Regions from separate parts of the Homo sapiens genome. Here all the other regions are linked to region 1. Evidence: promoter capture Hi-C in 16 types of primary human blood cells and fetal thymus (Javierre and others, 2016). All regions are on one chromosome and are shown on one strand. The core of a region is centred on a gene start or on the middle of the fragment in contact, and the rest is flanking DNA. Distances in the headings are between cores, read along the strand shown.

The links. Contacts are between HindIII fragments. The CHiCAGO score rates a contact against its expected background, and 5 or more counts as called.
Region 2: a fragment that was not itself captured here is called in contact with the fragment with the promoter of NIPSNAP3A in region 1 in 3 of 17 cell types (naive CD8 T cells, erythroblasts and fetal thymus); the score reaches 9.4 in naive CD8 T cells.
Region 3: a contact is called between a fragment that was not itself captured here and the fragment with the promoter of NIPSNAP3A in region 1, in 1 of 17 cell types (erythroblasts). The highest score is 7.4, in erythroblasts.
Region 4: a fragment that was not itself captured here is called in contact with the fragment with the promoter of NIPSNAP3A in region 1 in 12 of 17 cell types (naive CD4 T cells, total B cells, M2 macrophages and 9 more); the score reaches 16.8 in naive CD4 T cells.
Region 5: a fragment that was not itself captured here is called in contact with the fragment with the promoter of NIPSNAP3A in region 1 in 13 of 17 cell types (naive B cells, naive CD8 T cells, M2 macrophages and 10 more); the score reaches 16.0 in naive B cells.
Region 6: the fragment with the promoter of RAD23B here is called in contact with the fragment with the promoter of NIPSNAP3A in region 1 in 3 of 17 cell types (non-activated CD4 T cells, activated CD4 T cells and total CD8 T cells); the score reaches 16.7 in non-activated CD4 T cells.
Region 7: a contact is called between a fragment that was not itself captured here and the fragment with the promoter of NIPSNAP3A in region 1, in 3 of 17 cell types (M2 macrophages, M1 macrophages and M0 macrophages). The highest score is 14.3, in M2 macrophages.

What each region holds. Positions count from the first base shown.
Region 1 is chr9:104,746,040-104,749,647 of GRCh38, reverse strand. It overlaps NIPSNAP3A (nipsnap homolog 3A), which reads right to left and starts at 1,965. Exons shown (of 6, transcript NM_015469.3): 1 at 1,796-1,965. The coding sequence starts at 1,855. LOC107987105 (a long non-coding RNA gene) reads left to right here and starts at 2,009. Exons shown (of 5, transcript XR_007061705.1): 1 at 2,009-2,199. RefSeq lists an enhancer at 1,402-1,561 and a silencer at 1,982-2,071. The HindIII fragment of the contact is 7,745 bases long and covers 1-3,608 here.
Region 2 is chr9:101,788,604-101,792,211 of GRCh38, reverse strand. No RefSeq gene overlaps it. Among named protein-coding and RNA genes, the nearest start is that of GRIN3A, 52 kb to the right of the region's middle. The HindIII fragment of the contact is 2,716 bases long and covers 518-3,233 here.
Region 3 is chr9:101,836,963-101,840,570 of GRCh38, reverse strand. The region is part of intron 1 of LOC105376187 (a long non-coding RNA gene); the gene reads left to right. Among named protein-coding and RNA genes, the nearest start is that of GRIN3A, 100 kb to the right of the region's middle. The HindIII fragment of the contact is 2,532 bases long and covers 466-2,997 here.
Region 4 is chr9:101,963,833-101,967,440 of GRCh38, reverse strand. No RefSeq gene overlaps it. Among named protein-coding and RNA genes, the nearest start is that of GRIN3A, 230 kb to the right of the region's middle. The HindIII fragment of the contact is 959 bases long and covers 1,559-2,517 here.
Region 5 is chr9:101,983,199-101,986,806 of GRCh38, reverse strand. No RefSeq gene overlaps it. Among named protein-coding and RNA genes, the nearest start is that of GRIN3A, 250 kb to the right of the region's middle. The HindIII fragment of the contact is 1,558 bases long and covers 1,000-2,557 here.
Region 6 is chr9:107,281,244-107,284,851 of GRCh38, reverse strand. It overlaps RAD23B (RAD23 nucleotide excision repair protein B), which reads right to left and starts at 1,573. Exons shown (of 10, transcript NM_002874.5): 1 at 1,157-1,573. The coding sequence starts at 1,222. RefSeq lists a silencer at 1,035-1,594 and an enhancer at 2,085-2,244. The HindIII fragment of the contact is 9,258 bases long and covers 1-3,608 here.
Region 7 is chr9:102,635,459-102,639,066 of GRCh38, reverse strand. All of the region lies in intron 3 of LINC00587 (long intergenic non-protein coding RNA 587), which reads right to left. Among named protein-coding and RNA genes, the nearest start is that of LINC00587, 120 kb to the right of the region's middle. The HindIII fragment of the contact is 578 bases long and covers 1,647-2,224 here.

The DNA.
Region 1 (3,608 bases), core at 716-3,215:
CTCATGGTATACACACAGGCATTCGTGATATTCTTATAAATCCATCTTACTTAAGTTTGAATAGCATGTGCCATTTCCTTAAGTTGATTACACCAGAATAATCTGTGAAGACAGTTTTGATACCTACAAAGCTATGGACAAATTAGGGCTTATACTGACTAGCCAGTATGTCTGTCTGAAAGCAGTAGGCTTTTGCTCCGACATATTTTTGTTTACAAAATACAAAATTATGTAACTGTGTATGATAAGGCTTAATGATAATTATCTAGAGTTAATTCTATTCGTGTGTGACTTATATTCTTATTGCTCAAATGACTAAGCCTACCAACAAAAACAGCTGCAGCTGCCCCTGCCTTTTGTGGACACTCTTTTTGTGCTTTTAAACCAAACTCTAGTAACAATGTTGGTCAAGAAGCAAGTGCCTAGTATCCATAATTTCAAAATTATTATAATAAAATATATCAGGAGATAGGCCAATGGGGCATTTGTGACAAATGGATTTCAGGTTGATTCGAGGAATTTGTATTTGGAGGATAAAATAGTTGATCAAAGGTACACATTTTTACAATTTTGGGCAGTATTAATATACAGTAGGGAACCTACAGTGAGAGAGGGAGAGAGATGTGGACAGGTGGTGCCAGAGAAGGAAGACTGCAGGGGAGCCGGGTATGGTGGGGGAGCCGGATGGGAGTTAAGAATTTTGTTGCAGGGATGACTTTTAGCTGCTAGGGCAGAAATCATGAGTCGTCCATCCTCCCTTATCTCCAAGTTAGGGATCATTCCCACCAGCAACGACCTCCACTTCACTTAAAAGAGAACAACTGATGGACATTTCTAAAAACTTAAAGTTTGGAATCATGCCATAAGGACGTCATTCCTGGCCCTGCCCCACTGGAGAATCATTAGGGTAAAAACTGCATTGTTAACCCGGGGTGAATGGACATGAGCTGCTCTTCTTTAGTGCTCCTCAGTCTGTCTCTAGGACAGGTTAATCCCCTTCCCATCCTGCCCCTTCAGAAAGGAGTAAAGTCCTAAACATCAAAAGGAAAAGAAATTTCTAGGTTGAAGCCACAGAATAGGCCACTCCCGAAAGTTAGGGCAGAATCACAAGCTCCATTTTGTCCATTTCTCATCTAAGGTTAAAAGAGTCTGTCTGTCATCGTCCGGTTTGATAGGAGGCTCCGGTCCCGCCTGGTTGGGGGAGCGACCACACGAAGCGCGGGTGGCGGGCAGGGTCCAGCCCCACCGGGACCCTGGGCCTCCTCTTCAAGGGTCTCCGCGAAATGCTCGGAAGTTGTGTGCTTCATTTAAAAGGGGGAGGCCGGTTCCGTGGCAAGCGGCTGGTTGACAATTCCCTCCTTCAACCTGATGTCTAGAGAGGGCGGTGGCTTGGAAAGCTACGACTCCACCCGCGGCTCCACAGCGCCAGGTGACAACATGGGAGCGCTCGCTGGGCCGCAGCCGCGACATAGCTGGGCAGCAAAAACGAAACAGCCGGCGCCATGGGAGTGTCCCGGTGGGTGTGGCATCCAGGCTAGAAAAGCCTTCTGACCACCACTGCCCGCGAGACGACCCCGGCTGGGGGTATTCCCCTAGCAGCGGCCTCCTCCTCACGCGCGTTCCGGGTACCCCTGTCTTGGGGTTCCGGGGCTCACGCTAGAACCTCACCGGGGCCCCAGGTCTGGGCGCGCGTGGCGGAGAGCGCATGCGCATTGCTCGCACGTACCCGGAACACTCCCCGCCCCGCCCCTCCCCTCCCGTCGGGTGAAGGCTTGGGTACCCCCGTGGCCGGTACCTGAGGCGCCAGCGTCCGTGAGGCCAGCGCCCGAGTCAGGGCGCTTCTGAGGACGAGCATGGCGCGGCTTCGGCGCTGAGAAAAGCAGCCAGCCGTGTCCTTTCTGAGACTCCTCTGAAGGTTTCCCGAGTGGAAAGGAGCGGCTCCTGGATCATTGGCAGACGCAGGCTGGGGCGGGGCTCGGCGGGGTCAGCTCCACCCCGGCGCGGGAGGCGCGGCGGGTCCCGTAGCTTGGTGTCTTTCTCTGCTGTGCTGAGCGTTGGTTCCCCCTTGGTTTCCTGAAACGTTCTTACCCCAAACGTTAGAGGTGACGTTAGGATTAACTGAAGGCTCGGATCGTTCCTGCTTCAACTTTCTGGGCCCTCACTCACCTCATTCGCTCCAGTGCTCAGTTGTGTAGATTGGTAAATGTGCAGGGGTTGTGGGTGTGTTGACCATGGGGAAAGAAGGAGAGGTGTTGAGTGCGTGCATGTGCAGTGCTTTGTATTTAAAATCGTGGAGGTTTTTTCCGAGTTAAGTTTTAGATGTTGTGATAGACGTGTATTTGAGCCTGACCTCTCTGCAATGAATGTGTTCTCCATCTTAGAAGGCTCCTAATTAAGATTTAGATTAAATTTTCCACGAGCTCAGAGAAATGGCAGCATCGAGCCTGAAATGAAAAAGTCAAAGTTAAACATACCCTGGTCTAGTCCTCCCAGTCCGGGAGTGTTGGTTCCCAGAGTAACCACCTTCAACATTTCAAGCTGTTTCATTTAATGCTTGTTTCTGTATTTTTAAGTAAGTAGTGTTTTCTGCTGTTTATTGCATTTTCAGTTATGGATAGTATGTGTTGACTTCCTTCTGTGGCAGATGAGGATTTATGTCTCATAGATGCCACTGCCCCCAAATTCACTTGTCTTCCTGCATCTAATAATGCTTATGTTAATTTACAGTAATTAATTACACTATTAATTTACAGTAATCTATATTAATGTTTACATTATTCTTGCTAATAATTACATTATTGTAAACATTAATGTAATATTGCTTACATCATGAGGACTAGGGAGGGATTGCAGGGCCATGACCTGGGTTGTATTGGTTGTGCCTTGTGGAAGAGCTTTGGAATTGTCTGTTCAAAGGAAGGGAGACTTTTTAAAATTAGTTATTTCGGAAGGGTTGCCTCAGTTTTTCTAGAAGAGAGACATCTATTTGTAACCATGCAAGACTAAAAAAATCATTTGTATCAGGACTGGATCTATATGAGTAAATTATTTTCTTAGACCTTTTTTTTTAAACCCTGTAATTGCCAATCCATTTACTTATTCAACAGATATTTACTAAATTCCTTCCATGTTCCAGGCACTTTTCCAGAAACTGGGGTACAGAATTGAGCAAAATTCAAAGTCCCGTCCTCTTGGAACATCCAGGATGGAGGAAACAGATAAAAAAAGGAAGAGTAAATATATCAGGGATTGTCAAATAATATAAAGAAAAATAAAGTAAGATACGAATAAAGGTGCTAGTGGAATTCTAAAAGTGGTCAGGATTCTAGCTATTGACTTGGATATTTAGGATTTAGGTTTCTTCATACCACTCCCTCAAAATACACTTTCCTTCCTGCGTTTATTGATGTTTACATTAAAAATATATTTTGGAGTGAGAAAAACATGTTAAAAGCACTGTAAGCACAGGTGAATCTCTTCAAATAGTGGGCTTCACTGTGAGGTGATCTGACCTGGGTATTTCACTGAAGGCTGTATCCCCTCCCCCCAAACTGTTATCTGCAAGTTATTTATCTGTGTAGTCAGTGTTAGGGAAGGGAAACTTCCAG
Region 2 (3,608 bases), core at 626-3,125, 3.0 Mb after region 1:
CTGATTTTGTATTCTCTTCCACCCACTCTTCTGCACCACTTAAAATCACCTCTCGTCTGTGACCCTCTGCTGCCCTCTTTTGACCATAATCCATGCGAGCTGCTGACAAGACCCGCAACCCCTCTGCTCCATGCATCTCCCTAGACCCTGAGCCAGGCAAACTTTCACCTTACTGTAAAACATGTCCCCTGAGCACAGTCACACAACAGTTCCTCAGATAGAAGGTGCATTCCCTGCAGGATATTCCAGCTCCACCCACATACTTCAAAAATATATATGTATATACGTGTGTGGGTATGTGTGTGTGTGGAAATATGTCAGTCACTGTGCTGGATTTTTGAAATATATCAGCGGATGAGAAAATTCATGTCCATTAAATAGTATGGCTTAGTGGAAGATATAGCTATATAAACTAGAAATAATATATCTTGACAAGTGCTGTGATGAGGAAATTTTATGATACTATAGAAGCACTTAAAAGGATTACGTAACTATGACTTAAGGGACAAGAAAAGCTTCAGACCTCAGATTGTGATCTGAAAATTGAGATGAAACGTGTTCCATGTAGTTCAAGGGTTGGCACATAGAACCCAACATTTATTTGCCACTCTGGAGAAAATTGCGTCCCTCATGTAGGTCACGCCCTCAAACCAGACCTTGGGCTGTTTATCTCACCTCTAGACCTACTCATCTATCAAAGACTAGGACTATTGGGCAAAGATAATGCCATAAGAAACACAAGAACTCTAGCCACATACAGGTTAGAGCCAAGACTGATTATCTAGCAACTTTACCAACAGATAAACCCACCTACTCCAAATCCCTGCTATCTTTAGACAGTACCCAAGGAAAACCTTCTGGTTTGCTATCATCTCCCATGTCAGCAACCACAATATTCTGTGCTGCTTTTGCTTAACACAGTCACCTATTGCTACCCTCTATCCCAAACTTTTCACTATGTCAAATCCTAAGTAAAAAAAATCCTCTGTATCCAGTCCTCTGTTTTCTTCACCCATTTCATGCCTTTAAGTTTGTTTCTCCTCTCAAAATACTGTTTTTTCTGCAGTCCTCTCAAAAAGTTTCTCATTTTCTCATGCTGCAAGCTCTTCATTATTACCACCGTGAAGAATGTGCCATCAAGTCATAGCACACTCTCTTCTCCTAGTCGCTATGAGTCAACATAATCTACTTCTCCTACTTCTTTAAAGACCTTGGCAATAACTATCCACCTCTCCACTCTGTTCTTGCCTGGGAAACTCAAGATCCATACAAATGATGGGAGCTCTAATGAGTTCATTGGTTATGAACATGAACTCTTCTGGTTTTCCTCCTACTCTCTGGCATCTCCATCTCAATCTCATTACAGGATTTTCTTCTCTATATGTCCCTGTATTAGCAAACCAAATGTTGACTTCTTTTCCTCTCACTCCACACCGTCTCCTTGGTAAATACTGTCTCAGTTAACTGTGGATTCAATTAACATCTATGTGCTAATAAATACCGAATCTTTATCTCATCCAAATATCTCTCATGGGCTCCAGAGATGAATACCTAACCGTCTAAATAGATACTTTTTGATGACTCACAGACATCTAAATTCAATGCGTCCACAGATGAATTCATCATCTTTTCCCCAAGTGAGTTATTTGCTTTGAGAGTGATACCTAAATGCTCAAGCCAGAAATACAGGTTTCTTCTCTTACTCCCTTCTCCAGTTTCTCCGCACACCCACCTCAAGGCAATTTCTATACTTCCTTCTCCATTTGCCCTTTTTCTAACTTGTCACCATTTTATTCCTCAAGTTCACTGTCCTGCACCTCCTCCTGCCACCCCTTCAATCCATTCTTCACACTGCATCCATCCTGACTGTCCAAATATGCATCTGCTTATATCATTACCCTGATTTTTAAAAACAATGAAATAAAATGCTTAGTGGAACCCTTCTACCCTCAGGATAAAGTTCACAGGCCCCAGCGTAGCATAACATACTCTTCTGATTTGGTTCCTCATTAACTCTCCAACCTCATCTCTCATCCTCTCAACACCAATATGCCCCATTCATGCCAAACCACTGTGTGACAGGATCCAATGACAACGACAAATTTCATGAAACACGTATAATTCTACTTGTATCTAAGGTTAAAGGACTTTCTTATTAAGTGTCTGGGGGTGAAGGATGGGGTTTTTAAGGAAACCTATGTCAATGAACCCCATTTGTGTGCATAAAGATAACCAGTTGCATGTAGGTTTGATTTCTGCAGAATATAGGTAATTCCCAAGGGGACCAGCAGAGAAGAAGGAAAAAAAATGTTAGCTTCACCAGGCTCCTTAAATTATGACAACACTTACACATGACTGGCCCAGAATTTAGGCTGCAGTGAAGCATTTCTAATGGCTCAATTCCAAGGCTAATAGAGCCAAGCAACTCTTTGAGGATCCTCTATGTCCTCTCATTTTTTAAAACCCCAGATGCTAGCATATAATCAATGCTTAACTCTATGTTGCAGATCCTTTGCAGGGATTGTGCTCATATAACCTACATTTTCCAGGACAATTGTGATTTCAAATATTCTCCTCTGTAAACCATGGAAATGTTTCATAAATTACAATTTTATGAAAATAATAATGGAGAAGATCAAGAAAGTTAAGTATTGTAGTAAAATTTTAGATGTGAAAAGATGAATAGCACAAAAGAACTGAGACATCAGAGGCCAAGGAAGCATTGTGATACATTGTGAAAACAAAGTATACTATCCCATGTCATATACATCTAGGTATGTAATGTTAAATGTGTGTAACATGTGGCACCCTCAGATAAAAATAAATCATGTTAAAGTGACATTCTGCAAGGAAGCCACTTTCCTGGTTGGCACAATGTGAGGATCAGAATTGAAATGAAGAGTCAGATAGGTATTGTCTTGTTTTATTGTTTGTTTGTTTGTTTGTTTGTTTTATGATTCTTGGAACTTCATGAAAAAATTAATGGAGAAAATTGAAAACCTCAGTGAATTACATGAAAAGAAAACAATATACATTTTACTGTGAAGTTATGTATAGTAATTTATTACAACTTTTACTATTTTGACCACTGCAAGATATTTTGATAGACTCTTGTGACCTCACTTGTTCACTCCTTTAATGAATATTGAGCATCTCCTGTGTGTTGGACACTGTCCTAGGTACTTGGAATGTGAACCTAATGAAACAACACAGGTCACTGTCTTCAAGAAGCTTATATTCTAGCAGTGGACAGATAATACCAATAGGTTTGTAAATTAGTAAATCACATCAGATGTTAAAAGATGATAAATTTTATGCAAAAAAAGTAGTGTAGGGCAGAGGAATTCAGAGTGCCATTAAGGGAAAAGTGTAAGGCTGTAGTATTAATAGAGTGATCAAGGTAAGCTTTATTTGGAAGATAAAATTTGAGCAATCACTTGAAAAAGGTGAAAGAATTAAACAGACAGCTGGGGAAGCATGTTCCAGGCAGAGGGGACAGCTGGAGCAAATGCTCTAGGATGAAAGGACTTTTCACAGTTGTGATTTCACATTTGTATTTTGATCATTGTATTAATCTGCCTCCTTCCTTAGACAGTATCTCCAAAAAA
Region 3 (3,608 bases), core at 482-2,981, 2.9 Mb after region 1:
TGTAGTTTCTTGTAAAATCTTGGCCTGGCACTGTGTCTCACGCCTGTAATCCCAGCACTTTGGGAGGCCAAGGCAGGTGGATCACCTGAGGTCAGGAGTTCAAGACCAGCCTGACCAACATGGAGAAACCTCATCTCTACTAAAAATACAAAATTAGCCAGAGTGGTGGCACATGCCTGTAATCCCAGCTACTCGGGAGGCTAAGGCAGGAGAATTGCTTGAACCCGGGAGGCGGAGGTTGTGGTGAGCCGAGATTGTGCCATTGCACTGCAGCCTGGGCAACAAGAGAGAAACTTCATCTCAAAAAAAAAAACACAAAAGCTTCACAATTTGATATATCTAGAATGATGGGTCTGGGTCAACAACTGTATACTCAATATTACTCTCATTTTGACTCTCTTCAGCACACCAGACACACTCAGCCATATCCAGAACTGCAGGTCTCCATTTCCTTCCCATAAAGCTTTCAAAGTACATACACTGAAAATATTGTAATGATTATAATTAGCATTCAAGTCCAGGGCAAGGCTTTCTTTGAGGGAAGGACTACAGAATGCAGATCTTTTAGAGCACTGACGGAAGAAAATTGCTCCTAAAAAAATGTTTTCTTTTGTTTTGTTATTTCACTTTAAGTTCCCCGATACAAGTGCTGAACGGGTAGGTTTGTTAGACAGGTGTACGCATGCCATGGTGGTTTGCTGCACCTATCAACCCTTCATCTAGGTTTTAAGCTCCACAGGCATTAACCATTTTTCCTAATGCTTTCCCTCCCCTTGACCCCCATGCCCTGACTGACCCCGGTGTACATTGCTTCCCTCCCTGTATCCAGGTGTTCTCATTGTTCACCTCCCACTTATGAGTGAGAAAATGTGGTGTTTGGTCCTCTGTTCCTGTGTTAGTTTGCTGAGGATGATGGTTTCCAGCTTCATCCATGTCCCGGCAAAGGTCATGATCTCATTCCTTTTTATGGCCGCATAGGGTTCCATGGTGTATATGTACCACATTTTTTTTATCCAGTCTATCATTGATGGGTATTTGGTTGGTTCCATGTCTTTGCTATTGTAAATAGTGCTGCAATAAATATATATGTGCATGTGTTTTTATAGTAGAATGATTTATATTCCTTTGGCTATATATCTAGTAATGCAATTCCTGGGTCAAATGGTATTTCTGGTTCTATATCCTAGAGGAGTCACCACACTGTCTTCCACGATGGTTGAACTAATTTACATTCCCACCAGCAGTGTAAAAGCATTCCTATTTCTTCACAGCCTTGCCAGCATCTATTGTTTCTTGACTTTTTAATAACTGCCATTCTGACTGGTATGAGATGATACTTCCTTGTGGATTTGATTTGCATTTCTCTAGTGACCAGTGACGGTGAGCTTTTTTCATGTTTGTTGGCCGCATAAATGTCTTCTTTTGAGAAGTGTCTGTTCATATCCTTTGACCACTTTTTGATGGGGTTGTCTGTTTTTTTCTTGTAAATTTGTTTAAGTTCCTTGTAGATACTGGAAATTAGATCTTTGTCAGATGAGTAAATTGCAAAAATTTTCTCCCGTTCTGTAAGTTACCTGTTCACTCTGATGATAGTTTCTTTTGCTGTGCAGAAGCTCTTTAGTTTGATTAGATTCCATTTGTTAATTTTGGCTTTTGTTACAATTGCTTTCAGCATTTTAGTGATGAAGTCTTTGCCCATGACTATGTCATGAATTGTATTGCCTAGGTTTTCTTCTAGGGCTTTTATGGTTTTGTGTTTTACATTTAAGTCTTTAATCCACCTTGAGTTAATTTTTGTATACGGTTTGAGGAAGGGGTCCAGTTTCTGTTTTCTGCATATGGCTAGCCCAGTTTTCCCAGGACCATTTATTAAATAGGGAATTCTTTCCCAATTGCTTGTTTTTGTCAGGTTTGTCAAAGATCAGATGGTTGTAGATGTGTGGTGTTACTTCTGAGGTTCTGTTCTGTTCCACTGGTCTATATGTTTGTTTTGGTACAAGTACCATGCTGTTTTTGTTACTGTAGGCTTGTAGTACAGTTTGAAGTCAGGTAGAATGATGCCTCCAGCTTTGTTCTTTTTGCTTAGGACTGTCTTGGCTATACAGGCTCTTTTTTTGGTTCCATATGAAATTTAAAGTAGTTTTTTTTAATTCTGTGAAGAATGTCAATGGTAGTTTGATGGGAATAGCATTGACTCTATAAATTACTTCAAGCAGTATGGCCATTTTGATGATATTGACTCTTCCTATCCATGAGGTTAGAATGTTTTTCCATTAGTTTGTGTTCTCTCTTATTTCCTTGAGCAGTGGTTTGTAGTTCTCCTGGAAGAGGTCCTTCACATCCCTTGTTGGCTTTATTCCTAGGTATTTTATTATCTTTGTAGCAACTGTGAATGGGAGTTCATTCATGATTTGGCTCTATGCTTGTCTATCGTTGGTGTATAGGAATGCTTGTGATTTTTCCACATCGATTTTGTATCCTGAGACTTTGCTGGGGTTGCTTATCAGCTTAAGGAGTTTTGGGGCTGAGATGATAGGGTATTCTAAATATAGAATCATGTCATCTGCAAACAGAGACAATTTGACTTCCTCTCTTCCTATTTGAATACCCTTTATTTCTTTCTCTTGCCTGATTGCCCAGGCCAGAACTTCCAATACGATGTTGAATAAGAGTGGTGAGAGAGGGCATTCTTGTCTTGTGCTGGTTTTCAAATGGAATGCTTCCAGCTTTTGCCCATTCAGTATGATATTGACTGTGGGTTTGTCATAAATGGCTCTTATTATTTTGAGATATAGTTCATCAATACTTAGTTTATTGAGAGTTTTTAACATGAAGGATGTTGGATTTTATTGAAGGCCTTTTCTACATTTATTGAGATGATCATGTGGTTTTTGTCTTTGGTTCTGTTTATGTGATGGATTACATTTATTGATTTGCATATGTTCAACCAGGCTTGCATGCCAAGGATGAAGCTGACATGATCACGGTAGATAAGCTTTTTGATGTGCTGCTTGATGTAGTTTTCTAGTATTTTATTGAGGATTTTTGCATCAATGTTCATCAGGGATATTGGCCTGAAGTTTTATTTTTTTTGTTGTGTCTCTGCCAGGTTTTGGTATCAGGATGATTCTGGCCTCATAAAATGAGTTATGAAGGAGTCCCTCCTTTTCAATTGTTTAGAATAGTTTCAGAAGGAATGGCACCAACTCATCTTTGTACCTCTGGTAGAATTCGGCTGTGAATCCACCTGGTCCTGGGGTTTGTTTGTATTTTGTATTTTTGTTGTTGTTGTTGTTGTTGTTTGTTTGTGTTTGGTTGGTAGGCTATTAATTACTGCCTCAATTTCAGAACTTGTTATTGGCTTATTCAGGGATTCAACTTCTTTCTGGTTTAGTCTTGGGAGGGTGTATGTGTCCAGGAATTTATACATTTCTTCTAGATTTTCTAGTTTATTTTCTTAGAGATGTTTATAGTTTTCTCTGATGGTAGTTTGTATTTCTGTGAGGTCAGTGGTGATATCCCCTTTATCATTTTTTATTTGATTCTTCTCTTTTCTTATTTGGCCAGCTAGTGGTCTATTTTGTTAATTTTTTCAAAAAACTAGCTCC
Region 4 (3,608 bases), core at 789-3,288, 2.8 Mb after region 1:
TGCTGATGTTTGGGTATATGCAGAATACTAGGTTATCTGCTGAGGTGCTTGAGGATGTGACTGGCCGGGAGAAATGCAGGCAATGACACTATGGCCATTATAATAAAGAAGAAAGAATATCAGTAGGTCAAAAGGCACAAGACCAGGGCTGAAAGAACATTTGAGTAACGGTTTATGAAGAGTGTCTCAGAAAACTACAGTTTAGCTTTATGAGAAAATGAAGATTTGCAAACCTGCACTCAAGAATGAAAATGCCAGCAGTAAGAGAGCTGGTGCAATCATGGAGTCCTGCACTCTTGGAGTCTCATAATGTTGGGAGGTAAACATAAATGAGACATAAAAAGCCTTCTATCCATGTTGACGTTTTCTTGAATTGGAAGGGTCAGAATCTGCCTGCTCCATAATTGGAAGGGTCAGAATCTGCCTGCTCCATGTCTCATGGTTGTTCCTAGATTAATTTTAGTTGCATGTACATTATATCATCAAGACTTAATCTAATTTGGGTTCTGGAGTTTGCAAGGGCAAAAGCCTACAGCTGTCTCCATCAGCTGCAATATTTTTGGCAGGATAAAATAACACCCTGCATCTCTTTGTTGAAACAGTATCTTAAGGACACAGAAATGTGAACCACAGCCTAAAAAGATGCCCTACTTTATTGGCAACATTATGTCATGGCTAACATTTGTAAATCATTCATAACAGATGCCAGCAAGAGGAACTCATTTTTCAAGATTTAAGATATGAGGCCCAAATGGGAATCAATTGCTCTCTAGCATGCTCTCAAACATCTCCTTACATTTATAACAAAATTGTTCCAGTCAATGCAGCCTTCTGGGAGCTAATCTCTGTGTGGAGCAGCTCATGATCCACCCATAGTGTTCCCCCCAGCTTCCATTCCTGCCACTAAATGGAGTAAAGGATCCTAAAAATAGCAAAGCCTTTGTTCAGACTTCAAGTCTGATTGTAAGCTAGTTCTTTCTATGGATGGCTTCATAAGCCTTGAACTGCCACCTTTCTCAGAAATGTTTTAAAGTCTCCTTTTCATACCCCAAAAGATACATCGAATCTAAACAAGCATATTTCTTAACAATTTTAAAGTACCATTTTTACTTTCACATTTTAAAATAGGATATGACCTGAAGATTAAAATGCAGTCCTATATTTATGATATGGAGGTGGAGAGAAGTACAAAATTCACCCAGGGAGAAAACAGTCCTACCCCTTTTAAAATCTAATCAGGATCATGCCCTTTGAGCAACTTGGAATTTTAATGTGAGGAGAACCATTTTTTCTCCCAGAGTAAGAAATTTTTGGTGTTTTTTTGTTTTTGTTTTGTTTTGTTTTTTTTACCATGATTAAGGAAGTTTTCTGGAGAAGAGAAAAAAAAGACATCTTTTAAAAAATCGTGGCTTCAAGAACATCCCGGCTTTCTAAAATTAAGAAATGTCCTACCAAGAAATTTCTCTGTGATATTATTTTCATTTGCTTTTCCTTTTCCTCATAGTGGTAAAAAAAAAAAATGCAGGAACTCATATGGATGACCGGTCACTCAAAAGCTTTCTCAGTATAGGTTCACTTTCCTCAACCATAAAGTCTAATACAAAATCCTATCTTGCTCAACATTGTATCATCGTGTGGTAGGGTGTCAATTAGCAACTTATTTCCTCTCCACTCCATATGCCCTCTTTAATATATACACTGTGATAAGCACTGGAGTTCCTTAAGCATCTCCCCTTTAAAGTGAACATGATGTTAAGCTCCCGCAGAGGCTGCTTGAGGGACATAACAGAAGGAAGAGCCTCTTCTGCATTTTCCAATGTGGGCAGGGGCTAAGTGGTGTGGATGTAAGGACATCCTATGGAACACTGCTCAGCCATACACCCAAAACACAATCCTCCACAACCTGGCAGCCTCAGCCTTTTGATAACACATAGAAAGCAGAGCTCCCAGGCAGAGGACATAATCTCAAGGCCTCCTGGCTCAGCTGGCACCTACATACTCCCACATGACCCATATGCTATAAAGACCTTTTGCCTCCACTAACGCCTAGGTTTCCACTGCACACCTATACCACCAATTTCTGGTCACCTGCAACACCACCTGGATTCTGGAGTATTGCCTATTTTCCACCCAACAACTCCAGACCAACCCAGCCAAATCAATCAACTTCTCTGCTAACTTGTAGACTAAACCACACCGTTTCCAGCAAAGTCTGAACCTCTTCCAAGTTTGTACTTCCCTAGGTACTCTCCTGCAGCTTTATGGTGTCAATACATAGGGCTTTCTTATATCTCATAGTTACTCTTTTATCATAGTTAAAGATTGTTATATTAAACTTTCCTGTCTAACTTACTATACGGTTTCTGTCTTCTGATTGGACCCAGACTGCTACATGTAGCGTGCTTGGAACATAGTAGGACCTCAGCAACAGGCTAACACTGCCTCTGGGGGGTTCTGCTTATCCACTTGTTTTCTATTTATTCGCCATTTTTATGTCATAATTTTTTTTCCTAAGCTTTGTAATTTTCCCCTATCCTGACTTCTCCTACCTACTCGACCACCAAGCAATCTCATATATTGCATGAAGATTAAGCTTACTAGAATACAACTCTGACATCATACACATGCAAATGCTAATTTTTATTGAGTGCCTATAAGACAAACACTATTTCAAATGCTTTAAATGTAGCATTATTACATTTCACAACACTTCTGAAAGATGGATGTTATTTCCCAATTTTTAAAATGTGCAAAATGAGGCTCAGAGACGTTAAAAACTTGTCCAATATCACATAGTTATTAATTAATACAGCCAGGACCATAAATATATTTTATTCTAAGGCTGTGCTTATTACATCTATGATTTAAGCAACTCTCTGTTTTAAAAAGCACTTATTAGTATCTTTTGCTCTCTGGGCCGAAGGCAATTGTTATCTTGATTATAAAACTTTCTCTGATTTTTCTTTCTCTGTCCCTTATAGCACATTTAGTAGATATCTAATAATACCCATTAGTCTTGAATTATATCTATATATGCTACGTACTTTGAATTCTAAGACGAAAAATTTTTTTAAAAATTTGTTTTTGTCAAGATCTTCCCACCTGAGCTCCTGAAATATTATTTTTTATCTTATCAAGCACACACAAAAAAGATAGCTGATGAAACTATAAAGTTGTATATCAATTAATATATTTTTAAACACATTACTAATTCAGGTCAAGGAAAGGAGAAGAAGTAAATATGCTAGCACTGTGGCTGTTAAAATGAAGTATTTTAATTTATTTTCAGAATTCCAACAACTTGACAAAAACGTATCTATATCTATACACAGGTAGATATTAACATTATATAACAAAGTACTCATTATTAGAAAGGAAGAAAAACTGCATTTATTTCTATTATTAGACTATAAAATACAGTAGCGTTTTATTTTCCTATCAGTATAATCCCACTACCTAGCACAATGTCAGGCAAACAGTTGTTGCCCAATAAATGATAGATAACATAAATCACATTTAGAGCCATAAAACAAGTCTCAATAAAATTAAAATTATTCAAGTAACATAAATTATGTTCTCTGATTGCAATGAAATTAAAAAAATAAAAA
Region 5 (3,608 bases), core at 529-3,028, 2.8 Mb after region 1:
ATTTCTTACAAGTGTATTTGTGTTTTATTACATGATAAAATTTCACCTTGCCAAAAGTGTTACTAGAACGAATTTTGTGATATTCTAGTTGCAAATTGTGATCATTTTCTTCCAGTTCTCTTGGCTCGCTAGGTATGCCTAAACATGCAAAATAGATTAGAGAATTGAGGTCATTATGCTAAGAAAATACTATATCTTTTTCAATTGAATTCTCCAAGTAACTGAGGCCGGATGTTTCAGTCATCTTAATAATTTAAAGAATTTCTTGACTTTCTAAACTTTCTTTGCACAGAGACTATCTAAAGAAAGCAGATGGCTTAGTCAAGTTTTTAACATCAGTTACTCTTGAATATTGAGATAATTTATTATGTTGGAGACTATCATGTATAGGAGTATAACGGAAGATGGGGATTTACCTTTGTAGGGGGTGTGTCATGTACCAGGCACATGCTTTGTGCTTTTTATACATTTAAACATTATACCAATCTTGCACAGGATTTCTATTTTTATTTTTTCAGAAGCAAAAATTCAAGCATAAGGAATTTAAGGAACTTGCTCAAGATAACATAGGTAGTAAGTAGCAAAACTGAAACTGAAATTTCCATTTGAATAATGAAGACAACATATTATTTTTAATTAAGTATGCTACTTCCAAAACTACATCAGTTGGAAAGATACTACAGAATCAGAAATAAAAGAAGACAAATTCCTAGGATCATTTCCCCCTACAATGTCACTAAAACCATAACCACTTCCAAATACAGTCATATCCCACATAAGGGTATTTCTGTTAAGGAGAGACTATATATACAATGGTTATCCAATAAGATTAAAATACCACATTTTTACTGTACCTTTTCTAATATATTTTCATTTTTTTAAAATTTAGTGGGTACATAATGGGTGTGTATATTTATGGGATACATGAGGTGTTTTGACACAGACATGCAATGTGAAATAAGCACATAATGGAGGATAGGGTATTCATTTCCTCAAGCTTTTATCCCTTGAGTTACAAACAATCTAATTACATTCCAAGTTACTTTAAAACCAAGGTGGGTGGATCACCTGAGGTCAGGAGTTCGAGACCAGCCTGGCCAACATGATGAAATCCCATCTCTATTAAAAATATAAAAATTAGCCAGGCATGGTGGCGGGCAACCATAATCCCAGCTACTCAGGAGGCTGAGGCGGGAGAATCACTTGAACCCCAGAGGCAGAGGCCGTGATGAGCCGAGATCACACCATTGCACTCCAGCCTGGGTGACAAGAATGAAACTTGGCTCAAAAAAAGAGTACAATTAAGTTATTATTGACTGTAGTCACCCTGTTGTGCTATCAAATAGTGGGTCTTATTCATTTTCTCTATTTTCTTTGTACCCATTAACCATCCCCACCTCCCCGCCAACCCCCTAACCATGCTTCCCAGCCTATGGTTACCATCCTTCTACCTTCTTTATGTTTAGATATACAGATATTTACCATTGTGTTCTGTTAGAGGAAAAACTTCAGCCGAATTAAATTTAAGGAAGTTTAATTGAGCAATGAACAATTCGCTAACCAGGCATCCCCCAGAAACACAGCAGATTCAGAGAGACTTCCATGCAGCCACATTGAGGAAAAAGATTTATAGACAAAAAAAAAAGGGAAGTGACATATAGAAATTGGAAGTGTGGTACAGAAACAACTGGATTGATTACATCTTGGTGTTTGCCTTCTTTGAACACGGTTTGAACAGTTGGCTACATTTGATTGCCCAAAACTCAGTGATTGGCACAGGTGTGGGCTATGGTTGGTTTACCCCTCCACTTGTTATATAGTTCATGATGTACACGAAAAACTTTAGGCCAAACTTAACTATGTAAGGAGGCAGTTTAAGGCTAAACTTGATGTAACAGTTCAATTGCCTATAGTATTCAGTACAGTGACATGCTGTACAGGTTTGTAGCCTAGGAACAGTAGGCTACACCATACCTAAGTGATAGTAGGCTATATAATCTAGGTTTATGTAAGTATACCCTATGATGTTTGCACAACGATGAAATTGTCTAATGACACATAGCTCAGAACATGTGACTGTTGTTAGGCAATGCACGACTCTATTTCCCTTTCACTCCAGAGTGGTTCATGGGGTGCTCACATTTACCTATGAGTAGTTGCCACCTTCCATTACACCCACTGACTTTTCTGCGCTTGGCACCACAGCTGCCACACTAGCCAAATGGAGAATTAAACTTCCCATCTACTTCCCAGAAAGGTGCTATTACAGGAATGCTTTTTGTTGTCAGTTCTGCTATTACTGCCTATTGATCTTTCATTGACTTTGTTCTTCATTGGCTCTGGCAGAGACTTTGCTCCTATCTGCTTCAATGATCACTGTGCAGACTTGGTATGAAGAAATGCCCTTCTTCTCTCAGCACTGCCTTGGGTCTCTGCTTTCTTAAAGAAACTTTCATGGCACTACTTTTTGGGAGTCACTCTTTATTGAGGTCATCTCTCCTTGAGACATTAGCACTACTCCAATGATAAAAACAGTTCCCCTCAGCTTGACTAAGCTTTAGACATATTTCTACCAGACAATGAGCCTCTGACCTTCCTTTTTTTAGAGCATTTACTTTAGAAAATCTGCAATTGTAAATTCTTTCTCTTCCCTTTTGAAATGTATGTCAATCCCTTCCCAGCTATTTTCCAGTTTTACAGTCTAGGAAATGTCTTTTTTAAGAACCTGGGAACCATCTCTTAAAATGTAAACATCAAAGGAGATGGCACCACTATATTTCAGTCTCTTTGAGAAGGTAGGAACCTAACTTTGATGGGTAACAATTAGCAAACACAGATGCCCTATTTGCAGAGAAAAACATTTGCAAACTCAGGAATAATTAAATGTGATCAAACTATCTCATTGATCAATCTATCCCCTAATGTCAACCAGTACTTTTCCACCAGCTCATCCAAGTGCTTAAAAACCCTTCTAACTTTTGTTTCAGTGAAGAAGAGTTCAGTCCCTTTCTTCTATTTCAATAGTCTTGAATACAGTCTTCTTTGGCTGGGCACAGTGGCCCATGACTGTAATCCCGGCACTTCGGGAGGCTGAGGTGGGCAGATCACCTGATGTCAGGAAACCAAGACCAGCCTGGTCAACATGGTGAACCTCCATCTCTACTAAAAATACAAAAATTAGCTGGGCGCATTGATGCATCCCTGTAGTCCCAGCTACTCAAGATGCTGAGGCAAGACAATTGATTGAACCTGGGAAGAGGAGGCTGCAGTGACCTGAGATCGCACCACTGCACTCCAGCCTAGGTGACAGAGTGAGGCTCTGTCTCAAAAACATGTAAATAAATAAATAAAGTTTTCCTTGCCTTTAAATTTGTTGGTGCCGTTTTGGCTTCAACACCAGTGTGGAGGCTGGACGACACTCCCATTGTCTCAGCAACGGGATGTCTCTATCTACAACGGTCCACCTCAGCTCTCCCTTTCCTCAGGATAAGTCCCTTCTCCTTTGAGGGCATAGCAGTGAAGAAAAGACCACTCTTTCACTGTAGCTTTGATGTTTTAGCTCTGGAGGTCCACAGGCATTATGGACTCCAGTCAGATGTATTTCCTGT
Region 6 (3,608 bases), core at 324-2,823, 2.5 Mb before region 1:
CCGTAATTTGCCCAAGGTCATAGCAAATAAGTTACAAAACCACAAATGGAACTCAGGTCTACTTAACACCAAAGCCCCTGATCTCCACCCAAAATAGAATCAACTACTTTTAAAAATAGAGTTGGGCAGAAAGCTGCTGGTTTAAACTTAGTATTATGACAATCTTGGCGGTGTATTTCCGAACATAAGCAGTAAATTTACACTCACAGCGTTTTTAGATTCTTGGCATAAAGTTGTACTGACCTCAACAGTGTCTCTTTATGCAGTCACAAATACAGAAAAATGTATAATGTGGACTTCTGAAATGTTTAAGGCTTTAACTGCAGAAAGGATTCAAAGTTGTTGTTTTTTGTTTTTTTTTTCTTTTTTCCCCCTTGAACTGCTACTGTTTGGGGCATCGGGGGAGGGTGGCTGCAGCGTTCCAACTCCTACAATTCCAAGATTTCTAACACAGAAAACCCGTTAAATCTGAAGTTTAGTTTGAGCCTGGATGGCTGTGAAGAGCTCTAACAGCTAAAACCATCACCAAAGAGGCCTCAAAGTGCAATCTACGCAAGGGTGTGGGTTTGGTGGCGGGAGGAAGGCAGCAGAACGATTCATTTGCAAATAAAAGGGTAAACAATTCTGAGGGGAAAGGGGCAAATTCATTTTCACCACCACTCACCTCTCGGCGGCAAACGGAACCTGATACTTTTTTTTTTCTTAAGGCTCATCTTCTCGGGTTACCAACTCTGGGAACTAAGCGGCTAACCAGGTCCACACAGGGGTAGTGGCGACGCCTACGTCTCCCTCCCCCACCTGTGCACCCATACCAGAAAGCCAGGCTCTACGGCTGAGACGGCCTGGACCTTCCCATCCCCCTCCGGCCCCGCTAGCACGAGCTCCTAGGCCCAGGCCCGCGGGCGTGCGCTCCACGCCATCTGCCACCAGGCCTTCGGCGTCCGGCCACTGCTTCCCCATTCTCCTGCCACAAAGCCCACGGCCAAGACAGGAGGATCGGCTCCGCTGTACGCCGCCAGGGCCGGCACCAGGACCCAGGGCCCTCATCGCGCCCTCCGGGGCTTCCCCCGCTGGAGCGCGCCGCCCGGCCCCACGAGCTCCTGGCGCTCCCCGCGGCCCGCACGCGGCTGCCCCTGCCCCCGGCCCGCGCGCATACCGTCTCCTCGGGGTCAATGTCTATCTTGAAGGTCTGCTGCTGGAGGGTCTTCAGGGTGACCTGCATGGTGCCGCCGCGCAGCTCGGCTGCCGGGCCTGCGCCGGGTGCTGGCCGCTGGGCGGGGTCTGTGGCCTGGCGGGGCCCCGGGGTCGCCCGCGCTCCTCGCGCTCTGGGGAGGAAGGCGGTGGGGGTGGGGGCTTGTCACATTCGCCCAGCGGAGCGGCCTCTCCCCCAGCCCGTGCCCCGGACCGCGCCGCTGCCTCCGCGACTGCGGCCTTCCCCGCGAACTCGGGCCGCCGTGCTTCCTCACGCGCCGAGCGCCAGCCACGGAGTCTGCAGAAGGCGCGAGGGGGTCGGCGAGACAAGCAGGGAATCCGCTAGCTCACCACAGGATGGTGGCCGCCATCATCGTGACTCGCCGAGACGTGCCCCCTCCCCCACGCGAAAAACCTGGGGGGATGGGGCCGGGCGGGCGAAGCGCGCAGGCGTGGGGTGCGGCGACGCTTTGCGCCGGCGCGGCCGAGGACTCCGCCCCAGAATTGGGGGCGGGGCGGAAGGCGGTCCTGGAATGTCGGCGGCCTGGACCCGGATTACGCAGGCGCGTTCCGTGGGCGGCAAGGGCTCCTGGGGCTTCCTCCTAGCGACTATTGCTGGGGCGTTCTCTCCGGCTGCCGCGGCTCCGCCTCTGTGCAGGCTCCGCCCGGCTGCCGAAGTTACGCAATGTGTAGCCCGGGAAGCGCTTCGTGGAGACCCGGCAGAGTGGATGCGGAGCCCTGGAGCGGGGGAGTAATCGGGGCGGAGTTTAAGTGAAAGGATGGCGGTAACCACAGTCTGGGGGCCAGCACCCGCGGGGCGCTTGCTGCGGGGCTCAGCCCTGGGGGTGTCGACTGATTCTTTAATCCCGACAGCACAGACTCCTGAGCTGGACTGCCCGAGTTCAAATATTGTTTTTTCTCACTAGCCTAAACAGATGGACCGATTTAAAATGAAGGTCAAGTTCTGTCACACCTCGGGGTAGAACTGTCCAGTGTTTCCCCATCTAGCCCCGAGTTAAAGTCAGAGTTATTAGAACGGATGCATTAGCCCCTCGCCTTTCTCCGAGTCGCCTTACTCTCCCCACTGGTGGATTCTAGGTTGCCCCCGGCTCCCTTAACATCCTTGCTCAGATATTGCCTTCTTGGTGAGGTCTGTTCTGGCTGCCTTACTTAAAATCCCAACTTCCTATCTCTGTTATCCTGCTCTGTTTTCTTGTATAGCGGGTATCCCTTTATAATTACCCTGTAATGTACGTATCTCTTGTTTATCATCTTTCTCCTTTTCCTGTGAACCCCAGACTGAAGCTGCACAGAGGCAAAGATTTTGCTGTGTTCACCCATGAACATGCCTGGCACATTGCAGGTGCACGGTAAATATTTGTGGAATGGGTGAATGTGCTTCTGGATCCTCAGCAGTAGAATGAGAATAATAATGTCACTCATTGATTATTGGAGGGGGAAGTTGAATATTGTATGTAAAATCATGATAAACAGTCTGTAAGCAGTTAGCTATTAGTAGAAAGTCCGTTTACAGATAGAAAACTGAAGTACAGAGATGTTGAGTAATGCACCTGGAATAACCCAGCCAGTAGTAAATGGCAAATCCACAATGTGACCTCAGACAGAATGACTCCAGAGTCTGTGTCCCAGGGTGTGCCACTATTCCCCTGTTTTTTGTTTTAAAGATTATTCTTATTTTTTTAAAGCGTCTGACTGTCATCCACGCTGGAGCGCTGTAGCACAAACACGGCTCACTGCAGCGTCAACCTCCTGAGCTCAAGAGATCCTTCCACCTCAGCCTCTTGAGTAGCTGGGACCACAGACACACACCACTGCTTCCCAGCTGATATTTTATTTTTTTGTACAGATATGTTCTCCCTATGTTGCCAGGGCTGGTCTTGAACTCCTGGGCTCAAGTAATCCTCCTGCTTCGGAGTCCCAAAGTGCTGGGATTATATGTGAGCCATCGCTCCCAGCTATTCTCCTCTGTTTTATACTGTGCCTGTGGCACATTTGATTTAGTTCAAGTATAAAACACAGTTCTAGTCAGGCCACTAGCTCTATGACCAATTACAAATTACTTCTCTGGGACAGCATCCTCACTAATACAATGTCACTGCTTGGTTTTCAGTGGCTTCAAGGAGCTTGGGTTTAATGTTTTCAAGAAACTTTCCTTGACCAGCTTCTCCCTCCACTAACCTGATATTTCCCCTTTCACAACACATAACTCCCTTCATAGTAATTAAATATGCAATCTTCTGCCCTCTGTCTTCCTGTATCTACTCGTAGTCACCAGGTGGTTTCATCTTGGCCCTTGTTTTGAAATACCTCCAGCCTGGACCTTTCCCCTTAGCTATAGAGTTAGCCAATTGCCTAAGCAATATCTTCACCTGAATATGTAACAAGCCTCTGAAACT
Region 7 (3,608 bases), core at 686-3,185, 2.1 Mb after region 1:
TGACCCTGCAACATTTTCTCAGATGAGAAAAAAATGAAACTTTCAAAAGTTAACAGGGTCGTGTCAAGTAGACACAGTGGAACTTTATTAATAAAGTCTTGATTGAAAAAAAATTATTTGGAAAAAGTGAGGATTAAGTATAAGAATTCTAATGAACTGACACACATAGAAGTATGAATGAAAATTATGGAATCTATATGATACTCAGAAAAAAGAACAAAAGAGCAGGAAAAATGGTATGTCGCTATTTAACATGACTATTAAAATATCTTCTTAATAAAAACAATATCTAAAGGAAAAGTATTAAGTATTTATTCTGGCTTTCCAGTAGGAACTTCACTGCAGTATAACTGAATTCCTACATCAAAGAAGCATCAAATATTCTGATACCATTTTATGTATAATGATATGCATAATAATACCATTCCTTCAAGGCATGTGGATCAAAGAGCTTATAGTTATGAGTTCTAGTTTAAATTGTAAGGTTGGCAAAACTCATTTAATCTGTTCCCACAATCAGAGACTTCCCAATTGCGATAACTTTTCTTCGTCCCTGCTAACCTGTGCCTACTATTCTCCTCTCTCTTTTTAAGGAGGAGGGGGATTACAAAACCGTGGATCCACACAGGCATCTAAGAGCTAACTACTTAGACAATTAACTGGTTTTTGTCTTACTTCTAAAAGATGAAATATCAGCAAAGAAAAACATTCAATAATAAAATTTTAAAGTATAAATACATTTGGAAAGTTGGGAAATACTCTATTAGGATGTAAATGGCCAGAAAAAGAGGTCTGTACTGGTATTTCTATTCTAAAATGAATTTATTTTCACTAATATGAAAAAACAATAAAGACTATATTTTTAATGAATTTAAAGGTATTATGTTTTCTCTCTTTTACCCATGTCAATCATTGATGTATTTCCCAAATTGCTATTCTCCTCAACTGTTAGATAAATATCCCTACCTTTTAAAGCTGTATATAACAGCTGGAAATTCTCCCCAGGTAAGATCTGACTAAAATGAGCTTAAGACAAAAGAAGCATATTGGAATTTTGTTTCCCATATGCCTCACTGTTATGAACAACTAGGAGAATTGATTTAATGAGAAGAAAAAAACTTAGGCAAATTAAACATAGTGAATATCAATCTAGTAAAAATAAGACAGGCAAATCGATAATGACAGTAGTTAAGGCAGTCAGCTACGTTTAATGGCTAATTTAGGACCAAGTCAAATTGTAGAGGAGACTAATGAACCATAATGCAAATCATACAATACAGTGAAAGTTGCAAAACATGTGCAATTAGCACACATGTTGGGGACATCAGTCTGAGATTCCTAAATATAATATGAAGCTGTTGTCAAGAGAAGATTGGAAACTGGACTTGAATGCCCAGGTATGCAGCTAAATCATCACTTCAAAACAAACAAACAAAAAAAACCCATCAGGTGGAAAGTAATCCAATCAGGCAAAATCTTGTATCTCTCTATCCAGGACTGTCACAAAATAAAATTATATCTAAAAATCAATCACTTGACTCAGAACTGTGTTTTTAACAGTATGTGTCTCATAATAGGATAGATTGACAGTTGCCATGCTGAATTTACAAAGGGAAATAGAAGTTGATCATATTAACTGTGAAGCTTCTATTTAAATAATAATTACATGTGGGTCTTTAGTGACAACCCTCATCCTTAGTAAAATTGGTTTAGTTTTGTTACTTCATCCAGTGACCACAAGATCCAACTAGCTTCTTCGGACCCTCTCTCTACCACTGCTTTTTGACCCTCTGAACATTTCATAGGGTTGTGAATATACTATATTGTTTGATTAGTAAGCGTACTCTAAGTTGTAAAAGACAAAACAAATTTGAACTAATTTAAGTTAAAAGAAGATAGGATTATATTAAAGGATCAGTAGAGTGGAAGTGAGGAATCTGGGACTGAATGCAATTGTCTCAATTCTGTGAAAACTATGAGGCTGGAAACATGAAATTAGTTATTTCTGGACTCACACATTCTCGGCTTCACCTCCTCTGAAAAACCTCAGGGAAAAATCTCTGATTAGCTTTGAGTGAAGAAATAACTAAGAGAAAAAGAATTTAGAAGTTTGTTTTCAAGAAATGCAAGATTGTCAGACTTAGAAGGACTAAATAATGAAATAGAAAACACAAGATGTGTTTCAATGTTTTAAAAAACACATTATTACCAAAATTATAAAGCTTGCTGTTAGTCTATTCAAGTTTGAAAAAAATTCTTATGGGAGCTGGGAGTGATGATAAACTCCTATAATCCCAGCTACTCAGAAGGCTAAGGCAGGAGGGTCACTTGAACTCAGGAGTTTGAGGTTGCAGTAAGCTGTGATCATCCCACTGTACCGCAGCCTGAGCAACAAGTAAAACCCTAACTCATAAACAAAACCTGATCATTATTATATTTTCAGAGGAGGTGATATGTCTTCAGATATCAGCATTTAAAAAGTCAGTGATAAAATACTTTCCTTGGAGAGTCAATAACGTTATAGGAAAGGCTCAGAAATCAACTGAGTTTGGGAGCTGGAAAAAAAAAAAAAAACCTGTTATGTTTGGAATATCTCAGAATGTAAAGTGCACCCTATCCACCTACTACCAAGGGATATGCTATTCACACTTATTCCTAATGTTGGCAGAAAATGTGTTAGTTTTGTTCCCACGTTCTCTACTTTTCAAGTTTCTGTCCCTAAAACATAGATTTAATCCCGTAAGTTTGTTCTGTAATTTTGTATATAAAAATCATCAATTTTATACTTTATTTGATCAATTTTATTTGCATAGGTGTGACAAAAGGTGTTAATTCACAAAGTTTTTTTCTTTTTTTGCTTAGCAAAATTAGAGCCATATCCTATTAATTTTCAGAAATTAAAACTGTCTAGAGACCTCATATGATCCCTATGCTTATAACTCTACCCTACACATCAGAAATATTTTCTTTTTGTGATTATTGGCTCATCAACTGAGATCACGAACAAAGAACAATTCCGTTCACCTCATTTGGGTTATACTATAGTAGCTGTAATTTTATCAAACTTACAAACACTCTAGCAGAGTTTTCTTCCTATCTCATCTGCTGTGGTTTGAGTTTGCCACACCAAAGCTCATGTTCAAATTTAATTCCCAACCTGGTGGTGTTGGGAGGTGGGGCCTAGTGGAAGGTATTTGAATCATGGAGGTGAATCCTGCATGAGTGGCTTGGTGTGTTCTTACAGTAAGTGAGTTCTTACTCTGGAGAGAAAAGATTAGTTCTCTTAGGAGCAGATTAATTTCCATAAAAGTGCATTGTTAAAAAGCAAGATTCCTCCTTCTGTTCGGTCCTCTTTCTTTACATTTGTTCACTTCTCTGACCTTATCTGTCATGTTACAATGCAGCACAGAAACCCTCACCAGAAGTGAGGGACATGCTTTTGAACTTCCCAGACTGTCAAACCATGAGCTAAATAAATTTCTTTTCATTATAAATTACCCAGGCTCAGGTACTGTGTTACAGCAACACACAATGGACAAAGACACATTATATCTTATTCTCTTCCATTGCAGACCAGTCATACTGTGGGTTAATTTAGGCCTACAACT